3 separate regions of the Homo sapiens genome follow, and regions 1 and 2 are each linked to region 3. The links are contacts of gene promoters, found by promoter capture Hi-C in human tissues and cell types (Jung and others, 2019). All regions are on one chromosome and are shown on one strand. Each heading gives the region's core, a stretch centred on a gene start or on the middle of the fragment in contact. The rest is flanking DNA. Distances are from core to core; before and after follow the strand shown. Region 1 has its middle 22 kb from the start of ALOX15B. Region 2 overlaps NDEL1 (nudE neurodevelopment protein 1 like 1). Region 3 holds the start of AURKB (aurora kinase B).

Region 1 (4,678 bases), core at 516-3,015, 150 kb before region 3:
TCACCCAGTGAAAGGAAAGGTTCCGGTGGGAGTTGATGTGATTAATGAATATATCAGGGCATGTAATGGAGTTGGTGGAATCATGCATAAGGCTATGATAATGGTTCAAGCCACGACAGAGTTAAAAGTGGGAGGTCCAATTAAAAACTTTTCAGGCAATTGTTACAATTGTGGGCAATTTGGACACACAAAAAAGGAACGTAAGAACAAATCGAACAAACAGGCAAGATATAATCAAATAAAAGAACCACCTGGCTTATGTCCCAGGTGCCAGAAGGGTAAACATTGGGCTAATCAGTGTCACTTCAAATTTGACAAAAATGGCCAACCGTTACAACCGCAGTCGGGAAACAGGAAGAGGGGCCAGCCTCAGGCCCCGCTCCAAACGGGGGCATTCTCACTCCAGCAGTTGGTCCCTCAGTCGGTCATTGCCTCTAGTCCAACCACCATCATTGTCTCTTGCCCAACCACCACAGTAACACAATTGGCGCCAGCTACAGCAGGGAGTACAGGCTTAGATTTATGTTTCCCAAAAGCTATCTCTCTGCTTCCAGGGAAATCCCCTCAAAAAGTCCCCACTGGAGTATTTGGCCCTTTACCTGATGGACAGTTGGACTTGTTTTAGGAACATCTAGTCTAAACTTAAAAGGAGTTCAGATTCATACTGGGCTGATTGATTCAGATTTTGTGGGAGAAATTCAATTGGTTATTAGTTCCAGTATTCCTTGGAGTGCAAACCCAGGAGATAGAATTGCTCAGCTGTTGTTATTACCTTATGTAATAGTAGAAAAAAGTACAGTAAAAAGAGAAAGTGGTTTTGGCAGTACTGACAGTGAAGGAAAAGCAGCCTATTGAGTAAATCAAGCTTCTAAAAACAGACCTGTGTGCACAATGATTCAGGGAAAACAGTTTGAAGGACTGGTAGACACAGGTGCTAATATTTCAATTATAGCTCTAAATCAGTGGCCAAAAGCGTGGCCCCGACAAAAGGCTTCTATGGGCTTGATTGGAGTAGGCACAGCATCTGAAGTCTATCAAAGTGCTACAATTTTACATCGTTTAAGACCAGATGGGCAGGAAGTCACCATCCAACCTATGATTACTTTCATTCCCATTAATTTGTAGGGGAGAGATTTGTTACAGCAATGGGGTACAGAAATCACCATTCCCCCTGCAATTTACAGTCCTGAGAGCCAAAGAATGATGACCAAAATGGGATATATTCCTGGGAAAGGATTAGGAAAAAAATGAGGACGGAATAACCCAGCCGATTGAGGTCTCAGTTAAATTTGACCGAAGAGGAATTGGATATCCTTCTTAGGTGCGGCCACTGTTGAGCCTCCAAAGCCCATTGCATTAAAACGGAAAACTCCAAAACCTGTTTGGGTTGATCAGTGGCCGCTTCCTCAACAAAAACTGGAGGCATTACATTCATTGGCAAAAGAACAATTAGACAAAGGACATATTGAACCATCTTTTTCACCATGGAACGCCCCAGTTTTTGTAATTCAGAAAAAATTCGCTAGATGGCGCATATTGACCGACTTATGAGCGGTTAACGCAGCCATTCAACCGATGGGAGCTCTCCAACCAGGGTTGCCATCTCCGGCCATGATCCCAAAAGAATGGCCGATGGTAATAATTGATCTAAAAGATTGTGTTTTTTACTATTCCTTTGGCTCCTCAGGATTTTGAGAAATTTGCATTTACAATACCTGCCATGAATAACAAGGAACCAGCTACTATATATCGATGGAAAGTTGTACCCCAAGGAATGTTAAATAGTCAAACTTTTGTTGGAAAGGTTATTCAGCTTGTCAGGGATCAGTTTCCTGATTGCTATATTATTCATTATGTTGATGACATTTTATGTGCTGCTGCAAGCAGGGACAGACGGATTGAGTGTTTTGCTAGGCTACAAGAAGTGGTGGGACTTACAGGTCTCGCTATAGCACCAGATAAAATCCATACTACACCCTATCATTACCTGGGAATGAGGGTACAGGAGAAAACAGTAAAGCCTCAAAAGGAGGAAATTCGTAAAGAGTCCTTAAAAACCTTAAATGATTTCCAAAAATTATTAGGGGACGTTAATTGGATAAGACCTACTTTAGGAATTCCCACCTAAGCAATGTCTAAACTGTTTGCTTTGCTGAGATGGGATCCAAATTCATGTAGCAAAAGAACTCTGATGCCTGCTGCAGCTGAAGAGTTACAAATGATTGAGGAAAAAATTCAAAGTGCTCAAGTCCGTAGAAGAGATCCTAGTGTTCCATTACAGCTCTTAGTGTTCCCTACTCTCCATTCTCCTATAGGAGTGATTGTTCAAAATGTTGACTTAGTTAAATTGTCCTTTTTAACGCACAGTACGACTAGAACTTTCTCAATTTATTTAGATCAAATAGCTATTCTTATAGGCCAAATACAACTGAGAATAGTCAGACTCATTGGCACCGATCGAGATAAAAATGTAGTTCCTTTAAACAAAGCACAGGTTCGACAAGCCTTTATTAATTCGTCAGAATGGCAGTCAAATCTGGCTGATTTTGTTGGCAGTATAGATATTCATTACCCTAAAACTAAAATGTTTCAGTTCCTAAAAATTGACTACCTAAATTTTACCCAAAATAACTAGTTCCATTCCTTTGGAGGGAGCCGTAACTATCTTTACTGATGGCTCTCAGAATGGAAAAGCAGCTTATACAGGACCGGAAGAAAAGATTATTCAAACTCAGTTTCATTCTGCACAAAGAGCTGAGCTACAAGCAGTTATATCTGTATTGGAAGATTGTAATCAACCTGTTAATATAATCTCTGACTCTGCTTACGTATTCCAAGCTGCCAAAATGGTAAAAACAGCTTTAGTAAAACATATTTCTGATGATCAGTTAAATTTCTTGTTTAGTTCACTTCAACAAGCAGTTAGGACTCAAAATTTTCCCTTTTATATTACACATATTTAGGCTCACACAAACTTACCAGGACCTTTAACCCTATTAAATAATCAAGCAAATTTATTAGTGACGCCTGTTCTAACAGTGTCCGGCCTCTGAGCCCAAGCTAAGCCATCATATCCCCTATGACCTGCACGTATACATCCAGATGCCCTGAAGCAACTGAAGAATCACAAAAGACGTGAAAATGGCTGGTTTCTGCCTTAACTGATGACATTACCTTGTGAAATTCCTTCTCCTGGCTCAGAAGCTCCCCTACTGAGCACCTTGCAACCCCCGCCCCTGCCCGCCAGAGAACAACCCCCTTTGACTGTAATTTTCCACTACCTACCCAAATCCTATAAAAGGGCCCCACCCCTATCTCCCTTCGCTGACTCTCTTTTCGGACTCAGCCCACCTGCACCCAGGTGAAATAAACAGCCTTGTTGCTCACACAAAGCCTGTTTGGTGGTCTCTTCACACAGACGCGAACAAAAGCTCAAAACTTCCATTCCCTAATTCATGTAAATGCTGCTGGATTAAAAAATAAATATTCATTTACCTGGAAACAAGCTAAAAATATAGTACAACATCCTCAGTGCCAAGTGCTACAGCTACCCACCCAAAAACCTGAAGGTAACCCTAGGGGGCTTCAACCAAATGCAGTGTGGCAAATGGACATGACTCATGTCCCATCATTCGGAAAACTTTCTTTCGTACATGTTACTGTTAATACTTTTTCTCGGTTTATCTGGGCTACACGCCAAACTGGAGAAAGCACAGCTCACGTAAAACGACATTTATTATCTTGTTTTGCAGTCATGGGTGTGCCACAGAAAGGAAAAATGGTCTGGTGGAAGGATACCAGAACCAAAACTTGGAAATTAAGAAAAAGTATTACTTGGGGGAGGGGTTTTCCTTGTGTTTCACCAAGAGACAATCAAACACTCATTTGGATACCCAATAGACATTTAAAATTCTACAATGAACCCTACACCGACCGGTCAGAAAAAAGGAAAGAATCAAAAGAGAAAGAAGACCGGTCCCTTCGACCTGTCTTTTCGGGAGCTGAGGAAAATGGTGAAGCTGAGCGTCTCGGAGAAAAAACAGAAGACGGAGAAGACTCGCTAGGCTACACCACTGACATGGGGACAGATAAAGAAGCTGACTCAATTGGCAGAGGACACCCTAAAGGAGAAACAACTAGCGATTACACCGGGTAATATGATCTTGGCTGCCTTGATGGTAATCACCACGGCGGTAAGTCTCTCTGCTGTTTCAGCTAAGCAAAATTTTACTACTGGGCTTATGTTCCATTTCCTCCTTTGATTAGACCTGTCACTTGGATGGACTCCCCTACTGAAGTTTATACAAATGGTAGTATCTGGATGCCTGGGCCGACTTATGATAGCTGTCCTGCATAGCCTGAGGAGGAGGGCATGTTAATGAATGGGATAATTGGGTATAAATACCCTCCAGTTTGTTTAGGAATTGCTCCTGGATGTTTGCCATTACAAATACAAAGTTGGATGGTCTACGTACCTCCTCATAATCGTTCTCAACCTAGTTATCACGTAGTGAGTGGAATGTCTTTTCAACCCATCAGGACTGTAAAAACTTAAGGGGATAGTTATTATCAGTCAAATATAAAAGTCCAAAATTGCAAGCCTAAGGGATTGGCTTGCCCTAAAAGGAATCCAGAATGGTCAGAAAAATGAGAAATTCTTACTTGGGAGGTTTGTGTG
Region 2 (4,472 bases), core at 818-3,317, 240 kb after region 3:
ACCTGGGAAGGGCAGCATGCATGCGGTAGCAGCATCTCTGACAATAAGCTTGTTTCTGTCTCCCGATTCGCAGAAGACCACGTGGCCTTAAACCAACTGCTGCAACTCTGTGTGCAGGATGATTCTGTGGGCCCAAGTCACCCAGCGCCTATGCTGCAACCAAAAGTGCCTCCTGTCGCTTTGTATCAAAGGACCTTTGTCATGATCTCATTCACAATATTGGTGGTCCCTGAGAGTGGAGCAGTGGAGTGATTGACGTGCCTGAGTTTGAAGAGAGTTAACCACTGGAATCTCTCATGTTTTATTCCCTCCAAAATGCTGCAGTTCAGTGTTGTCCCAGATTTTATGCTTGTGCTTAGATTTCTCTGTTCTCTAATTTGTTAAGTTTGTCTTTAATATTTCACAGGCTTTCTTGATCATGGATGGTGAAGATATACCAGATTTTTCAAGTTTAAAGGAGGAAACTGCTTATTGGAAGGAACTTTCCTTGAAGTATAAGCAAAGGTAATGTTGGAAAGCACACTAAAAGTAGGGGAGGGCATTTGGAATACACCGTGTCTTGTTTGTGCATTTTTCTTTTTAACATAAAGCTAAATTTAGAATTGCAGATTTAGGATTCTAGGATTGAGATTCTACAAACAGTCACCACATGGGTTGTATTTAAATAGTGTAAACATGCCATAAGTCTTTATATTGTTCAAATTATTAAAATAGTAGGAAAACTGTCATTTATGATTTCTTCTGATTGTTACCTGTTCTATGCTTTTTAGTAGGCGGGGCCATCTTTGGCCCGTTTTGCATGCACTGATTCTGCCTCATCATTTTGGTCATTTGGAGATTCTGATAAGCTGTCTGGGGCTCCATAGAACAGACTTTACGTTCTCCTCAGGCAAGCATGATCAGTGTCTGGAGCCAGCAAAGCTTTGAGGGAGGGGGAGAAGCTTCAGGGGCATGGAACGTTTTATAAAATTTCAGTTATTTGGTTGGGAGAACTTTCAGGCAACAACCTTTTAAGCAACAAAACTTGTCTCAAATTTCTTTTTTAAAAATGGGATCTTGCTAAATAAAATATTGATACATTTTCCTATTTTGGTTAACAGAGTTTACTAAGTCTTATCAAACCTTTTACTGCCCTTTCATTATTATCACCGAAGTCAGTTATTCTATTGTGCCAGTGGATATGAAAGGTGTGTATCTATGGCAGGGTTCTTAATCTTTTTCTGTGTCATAGATGTCTTAATGGGCTGGGGTAGCCTGTGGACTCCTCAGCATAATATTTTTAAATGCATAGAATAATAGAATTACAAAGAAAATCAATTATATTGAAAAAAGTTATCTAAATATTAAACTAATTTATGGCATAGTAACATGTACTTCTCTATTAATGCATTAAATAAAAAAAGATACAGAAGTGAATGTAATAACTACCTAATTTTGAAATAGTCATGAAAATAAATATATTTAGAGATACATGCAACGATTCTATTGTGATGTGAAAATATGTGTGATTTCTGTTGAATATGGTAGAAGGAAATGCCAAATTTGTTACTTTAATGAAAGTAAAAATGCATTTTTCTCGCATCTGAGTTCTGTGGTGGAAGAAGCTAATGGTATTGAGCCACGTAGCCTTACTTTTCATAAATATTGTAATCACTGACTTGTGGCTCCTTTTTGGGCTTGTCGTTTTCATTGAACCCTGAATATATACAGTAAGAGATGCAAAACAGATTGTCTTTAGTATATTTTATGAGAGCATTAGCATTCAAGCAAAAATTATCGAATTGCTCTATAATCACCTCCAAGACAATCCTTGTGGTTCTTAGTGTAACTCGTCTTTCCCACTTTGTTTCTGATTAGCTTCCAGGAAGCTCGGGATGAGCTAGTTGAATTCCAGGAAGGAAGCAGAGAATTAGAAGCAGAGTTGGAGGCACAATTAGTACAGGCTGAACAAAGAAATAGAGACTTGCAGGCTGATAACCAAAGACTGAAATATGAAGTGGAGGCATTAAAGGTAATTGCAGCAGTAGACGCTGGGGTCTAATGTGTTGAGTTTTATTAAAATGAGAAATATGTTTTTCAGGTGCTTAAGAGCAGCTGGCGACAAAAAATAGTTTGAAAAAAACGCTTAAAGTGAATTTTTGAATAAAATGTTTTCTTTCACGGAACCAGGGGAAAAGGTGGTTTAGAGTTTAGGAGTTCACTTAGAAACTTTGTAGTTGTCACTTTTCTAGCTATAATGTTCCTAGCTATATTATATTATAGTTCCTATAATTTTCAAAAGCTGCCTGATTATTTGTTTTGACAGATAGGTTGCCTCATTCTGCAGTATGTTTACAATTATATTGATAGGGAATATGCATTTATTTCATTATTGTTCATAGCCCTTTCAGTTTTGGAGTTTAGTTAGGGTTAAAAATTTCCCTTCTAAAAAGGAATTTTCAGGAGCAAAAGGATTCACCCCTTTCTCTGCCCTTTACCATCTACTGTAGCCACATGCTTGAGGGTATTTAGTGTCTGGGGAGTGGGTGGGTTCTGGGAAGGTTGGATGGGCAGGTGAAAGGTAGGGAATGTGAACTCTGTGCTTACCCTGGGCCGCATTTAGCCTGAAAATCCAGAGGTTTCCTTAACAAGTTTGCGGATTTTGAGGCAAGGATTTTTTATATTAGTTCTTTTCAGAGAGATTGTTATTGGGTTTCTTTCTGAGAGGAGAATGGTTGACAAAATTTAACATGAGTTTAGGCACTTAGAATGAATGTGTCATTTAGTTGTTTTTAAAGTAATTGTTACAAGAGTGTGGGTAAATTCCTTGGGTTCCCCCCCACCCTTTTAACTTGAGTTACCTCTTTAGTAAAGAGAACTGTATATTAATGACATGTACTTTCCTATACTGATGCCCTCAGGAGAAGCTAGAGCATCAATATGCACAGAGCTATAAGCAGGTCTCAGTGTTAGAAGATGATTTAAGTCAGACTCGGGCCATTAAGGAGCAGTTGCATAAGTATGTGAGAGAGCTGGAGCAGGCCAACGACGACCTGGAGCGAGCCAAAAGGTAAACGAATGACTGCATTTTGTTAGAAAAAAACCACCTTGGTAATTAGTGATTAAAATCTTTATTAGGCTCTTCCCCTAGATCTTAGTCCCAGAACATTTCCTGTTGGTGTTTCATGTCACCTGTAACTCATCGGACGGAAGGGAACCCCAAATCCTCATCTCCCAGATAACGCCCTTCAAAGCTTTCTCTTTCAATTTTTCTTTTTTCCTTCTTTCATATACTGTGGTTGATCCTATTGGTTTTGTTTTGTTTTTTGAGACAGGGTCTCACATTGTCGCCCAGTCTGGAGTGCAGTGGCATGATCTCGGCTCACTGCAACCTCTGCCTCCCAGATTCAAGCGATTCTTGTGCCTCAGCCTTCCAAGTAGCTGGGATTATAGGCATGTGCCACCACACCCAGCTAATTTTTGTATTTTTAGTAGAGACGGGGTTTTGCCATGTTGGCCAGGCTGGTCTTGAATTCCTGCCATCAAGTGATCTGCCCACCTTGGCCTCCCAAAGTGCTGGGATTATAGGCATGAGCCACTGCACCCAGCCTAGGTTTTGTGTATTTATTTATTTTTTAAACTGTCTCATGCATTCCCCCATCTTCCCTCTGTGCTCTTAACACTTCCATACTTCCTGTAGGTCCTCATATCTTATACCTGGATTCTGTAGTTATCCTCTAGCTGATATATCTTTATATTTCTGTTCCTTTTTATTCTCTTTTAATACTGACTGATGAATTTTCTTAAAATGTTGATTTCAGTTCAAATTTCTGAACAACGTGCAGTGGCTTGCTATCACTGTTGCCAAACTTTTATGCATGTGTAATTAGTTGTTTCTTAACCATTCCAAACTTAATTCCTATTACTTTATAATTGTTTCCTGGTATTTCCTTCCTTAATATTTATCCAGTGAGTCTTAAGTGACTGACATGATGCTAAACTTACAGATGCGGAGCTAGTCTGGTCACTACCCTTGGGGGTGACAGATATGTACATTCACTATGTTAATACCCTAGTAAAAAAAAGTGGGCAAGCTGCTGCTCCAGGGCATAGAGGAGGCAGCAGCCAGATTGGTTGCGGGGAGGTGGGCGGGGGGGGGGCAGTGGGGGAACCAATCAGAGGCTGAAGTGAAGTTACAAAGTGACACCCTATGCAAATGTCTGAGTGGTTGCAGAAAGCAAAGGGAATAGCTTCTGGTCCTTTTCTTACTTAGGTGTGGAAAGTTCCGGTTTTCCTTTTGATTTAGTTCTAGGAAGTCAGTGTGAATTGGCCTTAGGTTCCCTGACTTGGGACTTAATGTTTTAAACAAACTCTTACATATATTACAAGTTTTGAAAAGTTTTCTTTCTGAAAATGTGTAAACTTGATTGTATTGTGTTCAAAACACAGTGGAGATATAAATAGTGTAACAAATAGCCTTTCTGTAGGGAACA
Region 3 (4,654 bases), core at 877-3,376:
GGTGTGGTGGCAGGCGCCTGTAATCCCAGCTACTCGGGAGGCTGAGGCAGGAGAATCGCTTGAACCTGGGCGGCAGAGGTTGCAGTGAGCTGAGATCGCACCATTGCACTCCAGCCTGGGCAACACAGTGAGGCTCCGTCTCAAAAAATAAATAAATAAATAAATAAATAAATAAATAAATAAAAAATAAATAACCTAAGTAGGCCTAAGATAAGGGGCAAAGGACTCACACCAACACCTAACATTTCACTTCTTTGGCCCTGGCCCACACTTTTCAGGCATGAAGCTGTTCAACCTGTATAAGTCCTGTCCATAACAACACAGTCATTCATCCAGCCCCTCACTTACACCACAGTAGAGAGCTGCGTCAATGAACACCCACAATTCAAGGGGTTTAGCACAGAGGTATTCTCAAAGTCTCCTAAAAAGCTTAGTTTATTAAGGCTTAGATAAGATGCTTGAGGCCTTGAATGTTATAGCAATAACCAGGATTTACACTTTTGCAAGAACAGGCTTTAAGGACACTAAGAGCTACCCTGATGGCCCTGGACCACTTCTCACTTTCAACTTCTTCATTTTTTTTTTTTTTTGAGATGGAGTCTCGCTCTATTACCCAGGCTGGAGTGCAATGGTGCCATCTCGGCTCACTGCAACCTCCACCTCCCAGGTTCAGGCAATTCTCCTGCCTCGGCCTCCTGAGTAGGTGGGATTACAGGCACATGCCTGGCTAATTTTTGTATTTTTAGTAGAGACGGGGTTTTACCATGTTGGCCAGGCTGGTCTCGAACTCCTGACCTCAGGTGATCCACCTGCCTCAGCCTCCCAGTGCTGGGATTACAGGCGTGAGCCACCTACCTGGCCTCACTTTCAACTCTCAAAATAATAGGTACATTTTCTTTTAGGAGTGACTAAGGTAAAAGTGACAATGGTTTCTCATTCAGACTCCATTCCTGACAGCCTCACTCAGTGCTCCATGAGGGAGGGAGCTGATGTACAAGGGAACAGACAGACTCTCCAGGAAGCAAGAGCTCCAAAAACAGGGAGCAAAGCCTGTGCAGGGCCCCTTCCTTCTTCTGCAGCCAAGAGAAGAAAGCCCCTAGGCCCCAAATAGTGATATTGGTACCAATCTACAAATAAGCAAGTTGAATAAAATACAGTCCAGAAATAGACCCACATATATGTGGGAATTTATATATATAATAAAGGTGGCATTTCAAATCAGAGAGGAGGCCCTTCAATGAAATCTGTCTGGACCATTGGGAAATAAGTCAATTTAGATCCATTTAGATTCTTACCTCAATTTAGTCATTAATTCCAAATTGTAATTTAGACTTGCCCTGGGCCTTTTAAACTGTAACTTTATATCCTTTTAGAGTCTATTTCTATTTGCTGTCTAGTTTTTTTTTTTTCAGGATATGGATTGGGAATCATGGCCTGAAGGCCAGGCCCTGCCTGCTCAGTCCCAGATATCATTTGTATGTGACGAGCCCTGCAGAGGTCCTCACCAGCTGGGAGTCACTGGCTGGTCAGATTCACGTTGGCAGCACCTGACAGGATGTGGCTACAAATGACCAGAGCGGGTTCTGTCGTCAAACTTGGGACCCGTACTTTGGAGCATAACGGGGAAGAAAGTGCTTAAAGGATTGCTCATTGCAGGATCTCAAGTTTCCCAGCAGGAACTCGCCATGCGGGGTCATGGGGGCGCAGGGACGGAGGGAAGGGCCTTACCGTCTGTCGGCCGTAGGGCCAGGGGTAGGAGTTCTCCTTCTGGGCCATCCTTAGAGAGAAAGGGGGAGGAGAGCTGGGCGGAGAAGGGAAACAGCCGTGAGAAGCAGAGAAAAAGAGAGAGAGAGGGAGGGGTTGGACCGATCGAGCCGGAAGCGCTAGCCCGAGCTGGTAAAAGGGAGCAGGTCAGCACACTAGCCCCAATCTGGGCGCTGGTCTCACCGCCCCCGCCCTGCTATCGTCCCTACCTCCTTCCAGCCCTGCGGCGTGCGCGCAGGCCAGCCCAACGGACCCTCTGATCTACCTGATCATCTGCCCACTCCCGGCGCAAGGCCTGCGACAGGAGGCCAGCTCACCTGGGGTCCAAGGCACTGCTACTCTCCCGGCCGCCCGCAAACAACTGAATCTGCCACGCCGCGCCCTGGCCAAGGACTTTTCAAATCTCCCGCCCCGGCCCCATTGGGCAAGCTCGTCGCCCATGCCTAGTTCCCATTGGCTCGATGTCCTGTGACGTAAGTCATGGGAACCCAATGGAAGAGGCGGAATGAGAAGGGCTCACGCTTGGCTTCCAGTTTAGGAAAGTTTCCCCAAATTCCCCCAGTGAATTATCTTGCTTTTTCTTTTCTTTTTTTTTTTCCTTTTTTGAGACAGGTCTCTCTCTGTCGCTCAGGCTGGAGTATAATGGTGCTATCTGGGCTTGCTGCAACCTCTGCCTCCCGGGTTCAAGCGATTCTCGTGCCTCAGCCACCCGAGTAGCTGGGATTACAAGCGCCCGCCACCACGCCTGGCTAATTTTTGTATTTTTATTAGAGACGGGTTTTCGCTGTGTTGGCCAATCTGGTCTCGAACTCCTGTCCTCAGGTGATCCACCCGCCTCGGCTTCCCAAAATGCTGGGATTACAGGCGTGAGCCACCGTGCCCGGCCTTCTTCTTTTTATAAAAAAAATTAAATCTTTAATGTAACTGGAGTTTATCCTTATGCATGTATGAGCTGGGGTCTAACTTCTCTGCCCGATGGAGCGCCAGTTATGTCAACACCATTTGTTAAACAAACTGCCCCAACAGAATTTAAATGCTGCCCTTGATATATAATGTTAGCATATTTACTTGTGTCTATTTCTAGACTTTGTATTCCGTTGTTTGCTCATTTGCCTGTGTGTTTATTCTTGTGTCATTACTATGTCGTTCTTAAAAGTTCTGACATTCCTGGGAGGAGTTTTTCCACCAATAGACCTTTCGTTGCAAGATCTCTGTTAGCTGCCGTGTTGTTTGGGCCCACTTTCATTTTTCCTCCTTCCTGCCACACTTCCTTCTTTTCTGCTCTTCCTAACCCTCAGATTTCATTACTGGGTTAAATAAATACATTTTTGGGCCTTCTATGAAATAACCAGTGGATATTTATTAAGTATGTACTGTCCAGCACTCTTCTCCTTTCTTCTAACACTCTATTTTTCCTTTAGGGGACCACCTGTCTCTCCAGTCTATGCAGTCGGTTTCTGTAGTAGTTTCTGTTGCTGACAACCCCAAATCCCTAGGTTGATGAAGACCTATTTAAATCTCACTTTTTTTTTTTTTTTTGAGATGAAGATTCGCTGTGTTGCCCAGGCTGGAGTGCAATGGCACAATCTCAGCTCACCACAACCTCCTCCTCCAGGGTGCAACTGATTCTCCTGTCTCAGCCTCCCGAGTACCTAGGATTATAGGTGCATGTGACCACGCCCGGCTAATTTTTGTATTTTTAGTAGAGACGGGGTTTCATCACATTGCTCAGGCTGGCCTCAGGTGATCCGCCCGCCTTGGTCTCCCAAAGTGCTTGGATTACAGGCGTGAGCCACTGCGCCCAGCTTTATTCCCACTTCTGAAAGCACTTAGAGTTTTGAGGATTTGAGAAGGAAACTGACTTCATTGCAGGTCCAGAAATGAGCCCCAATTAACTTATACTAATCAATACCTTTTATTCCAGATTATGGTTATTGGATCAGGCATAAGCCTGTGATTTAAGTGGGCCAGCTAGTGGGAATCAGTTTCTTGCTCAGAATGCTGGGCAGCTCAAGGAAACACTTAACGTTTACTGGTTTATCATAAAGTGTATTACAAATGATATAGATGAAAAGATGTATAGGGCAAGGTATGGAGGAAGAGATTTCTGGAAGTGAGCAGGGAAGCATGCAGCCCTCATTGCTGCTTCTAGTGCTACTGAAGGAAGCAGCTTGACATTGAAGCCTAACATTGCAGAAGGCAGAAGAGAGGCCTGGAAAGAACTTCAGGACTTGATGACATTGTTGAGCCTCTACATGCCTACGTTAGCACTTTTCTTACATGAACAATAGAGAAGATTATTATTCAGCTAATATCCTTTCTGAATGCATTCTAAATGCTATTTGCTGTTTAAGCATATTGTGTAGAAAAAACAAACCATGGCTAGGCTTGGCGGCTCACGCCTGTAATCCCAGCACTTTGGGAGGCTAAGGCGGCTGTATCACTTGAGCCCAGGAGTTTAAGATCAGCCTGGGCAACCTGTGAAACCCCGTCTCTACAAATAAAAAAAAAAAAAATTAGCCAGTATGGTAGTGTGTGCCTCTAGTCCAAGCTACTTGATAGGCTGAGGCAGGAGGATCAGCAGAGGCCGGAGGTCAAGGCTGTGGTGAGCCATGATTGCACCACTGCACTCCAGCCCCGACATTAGAGTGACACCCTGTCTCAATAAAAACAAAAAATGGGCAGGGCGCAGTGGCTCATGTCTGTAATCCTAGCACTTCAGGAGCCCAAGGAGGGTGGATTGCCTGAGCTCAGGAGTTCAAGACCACCCTGGGCAACATGGTGAAACCCCGTTACTACTAAAATACAAAAAATTAGCCAGTTCTGGCCAGGCGCGGTGGCTCATGCTTGTAATCCCAGCACTTTGGCAGGCTGAAGTGGGTGGATCACG

The links. The method cuts DNA at HindIII sites, captures the fragments that hold promoters and counts their contacts. A contact is called where the count stands out against the background at its distance.
Region 1: a contact is called between a fragment that was not itself captured here and the fragment with the promoter of AURKB in region 3, in 1 of the 25 tissues and cell types used here (liver).
Region 2: a fragment that was not itself captured here is called in contact with the fragment with the promoter of AURKB in region 3 in 1 of the 25 tissues and cell types used here (hippocampus).

Annotation. Positions count from the first base shown.
Region 1 is chr17:8,058,868-8,063,545 of GRCh38, forward strand. No RefSeq gene overlaps it. Among named protein-coding and RNA genes, the nearest start is that of ALOX15B, 22 kb to the left of the region's middle. The HindIII fragment of the contact is 4,380 bases long and covers 1-3,955 here.
Region 2 is chr17:8,443,854-8,448,325 of GRCh38, forward strand. NDEL1 (nudE neurodevelopment protein 1 like 1) reads left to right here. Exons shown (of 9, transcript NM_030808.5): 2 at 407-504; 3 at 1,858-2,011; 4 at 2,901-3,049. The coding sequence starts at 419. Among named protein-coding and RNA genes, the nearest start is that of NDEL1, 10 kb to the left of the region's middle. RefSeq lists a silencer at 735-935. The HindIII fragment of the contact is 4,225 bases long and covers 1-4,180 here.
Region 3 is chr17:8,208,449-8,213,102 of GRCh38, forward strand. AURKB (aurora kinase B) reads right to left here and starts at 2,127. Exons shown (of 9, transcript NM_004217.4): 1 at 2,082-2,127; 2 at 1,729-1,801. The coding sequence starts at 1,776. RefSeq lists enhancers at 1,359-2,018, 1,580-1,629. The HindIII fragment of the contact is 18,109 bases long and covers 1-4,654 here.